Regions from separate parts of the Homo sapiens genome. Here region 2 is linked to region 1. The links are contacts of gene promoters, found by promoter capture Hi-C in human tissues and cell types (Jung and others, 2019). All regions are on one chromosome and are shown on one strand. The core of a region is centred on a gene start or on the middle of the fragment in contact, and the rest is flanking DNA. Distances in the headings are between cores, read along the strand shown. Region 1 overlaps GOLM2 (golgi membrane protein 2). Region 2 holds the start of MFAP1 (microfibril associated protein 1).

Region 1 (3,719 bases), core at 825-3,324:
GCTATTGGGTAATAGTATGTGACCCAGAATGTAAGAAAAGTGATTTTTTAAGTCTGCAGAGAAGCCAAAAGATATCATAAAAATCCATGTACTCTACGCCAGGCGCGGTGGCTTATGCCTGTAATCCCAGTACTTTGGGTGGCTGAGGCAGGTAGATCACAAGGCCAGGAGTTTGAGACCGGCCTGGCCAACATGGTGAAACTAAAAATACAAAAATTAGCTGGGTGCGGTGGCAAGCGCCTTTAGTCCCAGCCACTCAGGAGGCTGAGGCAGGAGATTCCCTTGAACCCAGGAGACAGAGGTTGCATTGAGCTGAGATCATGCAACTGCACTCCAGCCTGGGCGACAGAATGAGACTGCATCTCAAAAAAAAAAAAAAAAAAAATCCATGTACTCCAAAGGGACTCTCCAAGGCTCTCATCAAAATACTTTTCATTCTTGTTCTAATATAATTTTAATACTCTTGGCTGAGGCCGGTGGATCACTTGAGCCCAGGAGTTCCAGACTAGCCTGGGCAAATGGCAAAACCCTGTCTTTACAAAAAATACAAAATGTAGCCTGGTGTGGTGGCGTGCACCTGTGGTCCCAGCTACCTGGGAGGTTGAGGTGGGAGGATTACTTGAGGCCGGGAGGTTGAGACTGCAAGTGAGCCATGATAATACCACTACACTTGAGCCTGGCCAACAGAGCAAGATTCTGTCTCAGAAAAACAAACAAACAAACAAACAAAAAAACCTCTTCAGCAGTCTCATTTCAAAACCTGTAATTTGCAGCAAAATTAGAAAAGAAGGATTGCTATTGGCAGGTAAATTGACAAGAAGGCAAAGTGATCACAACTCATAGCCAAGAAAGAGCCAGAAAAATCTGTAATAGCCAAATAAATCAAACTCCATAGCACTATTTGGAGTAATTTAATACAGCCACTCAAAGAGGCTTTGAGGATTTTAGTAACAGTAATCTTTTTTTTCTGTTTAGTTAAGAAAAGGTTAAACTTTGGTTGTTATACCCCATTTAGGAAGCCAAGAGGAAGCTACTTTTGCAGAGACGTAAAGAAATTCACTAAAATGTTAAATGTTGGGATTATGAGTGACTTTTATTTTTCTGTCTTTTATAATTTTAAAAATACTAATATTGGATACTTTTATAATTTAGAAAAAAAAATTGATGTTTAAAAGCCTGAAAATGTGTACAGAAATGTTTCTACCAAAGCTTTAATTTAAAGGACTAAATATCATCTATATAGAAATAATATATTTAGGCTGGGCACTGTGGCTCACGCCTGTAATCCCAGCACTTTAGGAGGCCGAGGTGGGCAGATCACCTGAGGTGAAGAGTTTGAGACCAGCCTGGCCAACATGGTAAAACCCCGTCTCTACTAAAAATACAGAAATTAGCCAGGCATGGTGACAGGTGCCTGTAGTGCCAGCTACTTGGGAGGCTGAGGTAGGAGAATCGCTTGATCCTGGGAGACAGAGGTTGCAGTGAGCCAAGATCGCACCACTGCACTCCAGCCTAGGCAACGGAGTGAGAGTCGGTCTCAAAAAAAAAAAAAAGACTACATTTATATAAAAATATTAACTCCTCAATATTTGTGCGTTCCTAAAGTTTTACTAGTTATGTCTATCTGGCTCTATTTCTGTTTGTCTGTCATCTATGTCTATTTTCTAAAGATTTGTTAAAATTAATCTTGCAAAATAGTTCCACATACTTTTCACTCTTTAGCCAAGCAACTAAGAAATAGAACACTATTTGTACTAGGTGTAAAATAACAAGCAGGAAACTACCTTAAGGCTATGAAAAACTGAGACATTAATTGGATTTCTGCAGTGATTTAAAAAATAATATGTTGATACAAAATTATTTTACTTACAGATGATGAAGAACGAGAGCTTCAAATGGATCCTGCAGACTATGGAAAGCAACATTTCAATGATGTCCTTTAAGTCCTAAAGGAATGCTTCAGAAAACCTAAAGTGCTGTAAAATGAAATCATTCTACTTTGTCCTTTCTGACTTTTGTTGTAAAGACGAATTGTATCAGTTGTAAAGATACATTGAGATAGAATTAAGGAAAAACTTTAATGAAGGAATGTACCCATGTACATATGTGAACTTTTTCATATTGTATTATCAAGGTATAGACTTTTTTGGTTATGATACAGTTAAGCCAAAAACAGCTAATCTTTGCATCTAAAGCAAACTAATGTATATTTCACATTTTATTGAGCCGACTTATTTCCACAAATAGATAAACAGGACAAAATAGTTGTACAGGTTATATGTGGCATAGCATAACCACAGTAAGAACAGAACAGATATTCAGCAGAAAACTTTTTATACTCTAATTCTTTTTTTTTTTTTTTTTGAGACAGAGTTTTAGTCTTGTTTCCCAGGCTGGAGTGCAATGGCACAATCTTGGCTCACTGCAACCTCCGCCTCCTGGGTTCAGGCAATTTTCCTGCCTCAGCCTCCCAAGTAGCTGGGATTACAGGCACCCACCACCATGCCCAGCTAATTTTTGTATTTTTAATAGAGAGCTAATAATTGTATATTTAATAAAGACGGGTTTCACCATGTTGGCCAGGCTGGTCTTGAACTCCTGACCTCAGGTGATCCTCCTGCATTGGCCTCCCAAAGTGCTGGAATTCCAGGCATGAGCCACTGCGCCCAGTCTACACACTAATTCTTGTTAGCCCAACAGCTGTTCTGTTCTATCTACCCCTCATTTCACGCTCAAGGAGTCATACCTAGAATAGTTACACACAAGAGGGAAACTGGAAGCCAAACACTGTACAGTATTGTGTAGAAAGTCACCTCCCTACTCCTTTTATTTTACATGAGTGCTGATGTGTTTTGGCAGATGAGCTTTCAGCTGAGGCCTGATGGAAATTGAGATAACCTGCAAAGACATAACAGTATTTATGAGTTATATCTTAGTTCTTGAAATTGTGGAATGCATGATTGACAATATATTTTTAATTTTTATTTTTTCAAGTAATACCAGTACTGTTTAACTATAGCCAGAACTGGCTAAAATTTTTATATTTTCAGAGTTGAAGTTGGTGAAGACATTCATGATTTAAACACCAGATCCTGAAAGGGGTTAAATCTACTTTGAAATGAATCTGCAATCAGTATTTCAAAGCTTTTCTGGTAATTTTAGTGATCTTATTTGATTAGACTTTTTCAGAAGTACTAAATAAGGAATTTTAACAGGTTTTTATTAATGCACAGATAAATAGAAGTACAGTGAGGTCTATAGCCATTTTATTAAAATAGCTTAAAAGTTTGTAAAAAAATGAATCTTTGTAATTACTTAATATGTTAGTTAAGAACCCGTCAAGCTTATATTTGCTAGACTTACAAATTATTTTAAATGCATTTATCTTTTTTGACACTATTCAGTGGAATGTGTAAGCTAGCTAATTCTTGTTTTCTGATTTAAAGCACTTTTAAATCTTATCCTGCCCCCTAAAAACAAAAGGTTTTGATCACAAGGGGAAATTTAAGATTGTTAACCCTGTTTTTCAGAAGGGCTACTGTTAATTGCACATAAACATGAAATGTGTTTTCCCCTGTGTACTAACACATTCTAGGCAAAATTCAAACTTATAGTGGTAAAGAAACAGGTTGTTCACTTGCTGAGGTGCAAAAATTCTTAAGACTTCTGTTTGAAATTGCTCAATGACTAGGAAAAGATGTAGTAGTTTACTAAAATTG
Region 2 (3,719 bases), core at 406-2,905, 590 kb before region 1:
CCACGTTGGCCAGGTTGGTCTCGAACTCTTGACCTCAGGTGATCCACCAGCCTCAGCCTCCCAAAGTGCTGGGATTACAGGCGTGAGCCACCGCGCCGGGCCCTAATTTTTATTTTTGCAGAGATTGGCGGGGGTGGGGGGTGGTCTCGCTATGTTGCCCAAGCTGGTCTTGAACTCCTGGCCTCAAGCGATCCTCCTGCCTCAGCCTCCCGAAGTGCTGAGATTACAGGTGTAAGCCACTGTGCTCCACAAATTCTTATGTTCTTATAACTTACTTTGGGGAGCAATTGGCAACAGGTACTAAATAAAGCTAGTATTGGCTAGAGAATGACAATTGCAGAACTTTCTTTTTTTTTTTTTGAGAGAGTGTCTCACACTGTGGCCCAGGCTGGAGTGCAATGGTGCGATCTCTGCTCACTGCGACCTCCACCTCCCGGGTTCAAGCAATTCTCCTGCCTCAGATTCCCAAGTAGCTGGGATTACAGGTACCCACCACCATGCATGGCTAATTTTTTGTATTTTTAGTAGAGACGGGGTTTCGCCATGATCGCCAGGCTGTCTTGAACTCCTGACCTCAGGTGTTCAGCCCGCCTCAGCCTCCCAAAGTGCTGGGTTTATGGGCATAAGACACCGTGCCTGGCCGCAGCACTTTTTTGAACAAGGGGACAACCACCTGCCTCTCAGTAGGGAATAAAGTGTGGATTACAGTTTATTTTATACAATGGAATTCATAAGCTGTTAAGATGAATGAATTAGATGTATAGGGATCCAAAGATAATTCTCAAAAGCCATGTTGAGACTAGATACGGCGGCATCTACTCGGGAGGCTGAGGCAGGAGGACAGCCTGAGCCCCAGGAATTCGAGTCCAGCCTGGGCAGCATAAGCAGACTTCTATGGACAGCAAAAGAGGGACTGTATCCCGCACAATGCCCTGCCAACAGGCATTCTCTATCTATCTATCTAGTCTGATATTATATACATATTCTGATATATACTTAAGTTCCTAATTATTAGATTAATAATATACTTAAGTTCCTAAGTAATTACACTAATAATACATAAATTCTTGTAATTATATGTAATTAGTGATATTATATTCTAATCATAATATATATTAGACTAATACATATATTCTAGCATATATATATTAGACATATATATTCTGATATATACTTAAGTTCCTAATGTTTTTATATGTGTAATATATATTATATATATGTAACATTAGTCTAAGGAATTTGTGGAGGCTAACAGAAGAGAGGTGCTTGCTGAATACGAGAGCAGGCCACAGGAACAAGATCGGATGCAAGTGGGTGGGGGTGGAAAGATCGAAGAATCTGGCAGCCAGATCTCAAGAGCTGGCGGGGTTGGAGTGGTCTGTCCGGGAGAGGTCTGGAGGTTGCTGGGGCCGGAAGGGGTTAAAATTCGACTGGGAAGAGGGTGTTAGCACCGTACCTTTCTCATTGCGAACTGGGACGGCCCCAGCCGTAGACTGAATGGGCGGTTGCTTCATGAGAGCGCTTGGGACCGACATGTTGATGGCAGCGACGGTGATTCCCGAAACTTGACTAATTCCAAACAGTGAACACCAGCAACGTCAACGAAGAGAAGAAATTCCTTCCACCTGAGTCCGCGAACACAGCTGCGCGACTGATAGAGAAACTACTTACGGCTGAGCTAGATAAACCGGAAATACGTGACGAGAGGATTGTGGGATGGTGGACGACGTTTGGGCGCCCACAGCTAGGAAGTCGAGTCGGTTTCTGCGCATGCTCATTGGCTGCCCGCATGTCCTCTACGTCGCAGAATTTGGAAGCAGCTTTTGGCGGGAAATTTTGCTTCCTTTGGGCTTTGCTGTTAGGACTCTGCGGTGAGGAAGGTTCGAATGAAAGATTTTACGTGTTAGCTTGGTTTGAAGCCAAGAACGGTATAGTGAATAAGAAACTCAGGCGACAGTGAGTTACTGTTTGAATGGCTTGTTGAAAGCTCAGAAGAAGTAGAGTTTGATGGAATAAAAATCTTGCCAGTAGTATCCGATTAGCTTAGTTCATAAGGCCAGGGTGGGCTGTGGTGCGGTATTTGGTTTCACAGGGCAGGTGGTGCTGATTTAGGCCAGTGACCGAAAAAAAAAAAAAAAAAACTCCCGAGGTGCCTGGGACATTGCCCACCTGAAATCCCAAAACTCCACTTTTTTAGGCTTTCAGGTTTTTCCAGTTTCTGGAAACTACCTATTAAAATACATTCCTGGCTAGAAAATGTTTGTATTTAAATATCTAAGTAATTATTATTCTTTTGAGACTGTCTTTTTCTGTCACCCAGGCTGGAGTGCAGTGGCTCGATCTCAGCTCACTGCAGTCTCCACCTCCCGGGTTTAAGCAATTCTCGTGCCTCAGCCTTCTGATTAGCTGGGATTACAGGCGCCTGCCACCACTCCCTGCTGATTTTTGTATTTTTAGTAGAGACGAGGTTTCACCATGTTGGCCAGGCTTAAGTGATCCGCCCACTCCGGCCTCCCACAGTGCTGAGTGTTGGCGTGGGCCACCACTCCCGGCTAATTTTTGTATTTTTAGTAGAGGCAGGGTTTCGCCATGTTGCCCAGGCTGGTCTTGAACTCCTGACCTCAGATGATCCACCTACCTCGGCCTCCCCAAAGTGCTGGGATTACAGAGGTGAGCCACCGCACCCGGCCTATTTAAGAACTCTTTAAGGACTTACAGGATAATAACAGAAGCAGCTCCAATTTACAAGCTGAGTCGTGTTAAAAAATATATATAATATTGGCTAATTGGAAAGTCAGGACACATTTCACAGTAGAAAGGACTTTATAACTGCGGGGGAGACAAGGGACAGTAGGAACAAAGTCTTAAAGTCCAGAAACAGTATGTTTTATACAGGACACCATGAAAAGTTTGGTTTTATCAGTAATTTTTGAGTCATGAGGGGCCTTGAAGTTGCTATTAATATGATTAACCCAAATTACTTCACCTGTGTTCTACAATTGGGCCTTGAGTGGGAGAAGAAATGAAACTGGACAAATCTCAGGCAAGGAACAGTGTGGGACCCAACTAAGCAACCAAGGAAACAGTTTTGGGCTAGAAGGAACCTTAAAGAGAATAGCCAGAATCTTATTTTATTATTTATAGAAGAGGGTCTTGCTCTGTCGCTCAGGCTGGAGTTCCGCGCAATCACGGCTCACTGTGGCCTCATCCTTCTAGGTTCAAGCCATTTTCCCACCCCTGCCTTCTGAGTAGCTGGGACTACAGACGTACAACACCACGCTGGGCTAATTTTTGTATTTTTTATAGAGATGGGGTCTCACTATGTTGCCCAGGCTGGTTTGGAACTCCTGGGCCCAAGTGATCCACTCCTCTCGGCCTCTCAAAGTGTTGGGATTACAGGCGTTAGCCACCGCTCCCGGCCTGTTAGTGTTTTTCAAAGCGACATCCCAGTACCACCAGAATCAAAATCACCAGTCAAAGGTAAAAATGTCAGTTCAGCCCCAGGACATCCCTAAAGAATTTGAGTCTAGGGCTTTAAGACAGCATTTTTTTTTTTTTGAGACGGAGTCTCACTCTTGTTGCCCAGACTGGAGTGCAATGGCGCGATCTCAGCTCACTGCAACCTCTGCCCCCTGGGTTCAAGCAATTCTGCCTCAGCCTCCTGAGTAACTGGGATTACAGGCACGCGCCACCAAGCCCGGCTAATTTTTGTAATTTTA

What was found. The method cuts DNA at HindIII sites, captures the fragments that hold promoters and counts their contacts. A contact is called where the count stands out against the background at its distance.
Region 2: a contact is called between the fragment with the promoter of MFAP1 here and a fragment that was not itself captured in region 1, in 2 of the 25 tissues and cell types used here (H1 embryonic stem cells and dorsolateral prefrontal cortex).

Annotation. Positions count from the first base shown.
Region 1 is chr15:44,411,464-44,415,182 of GRCh38, forward strand. GOLM2 (golgi membrane protein 2) reads left to right here. Exons shown (of 10, transcript NM_138423.4): 10 at 1,873-3,719. The coding sequence ends at 1,943. Among named protein-coding and RNA genes, the nearest start is that of CTDSPL2, 14 kb to the right of the region's middle. The HindIII fragment of the contact is 3,102 bases long and covers 524-3,625 here.
Region 2 is chr15:43,823,035-43,826,753 of GRCh38, forward strand. It overlaps MFAP1 (microfibril associated protein 1), which reads right to left and starts at 1,656. Exons shown (of 9, transcript NM_005926.3): 1 at 1,457-1,656. The coding sequence starts at 1,535. RefSeq lists enhancers at 1,460-1,719, 1,472-2,103. The HindIII fragment of the contact is 35,410 bases long and covers 1-3,719 here.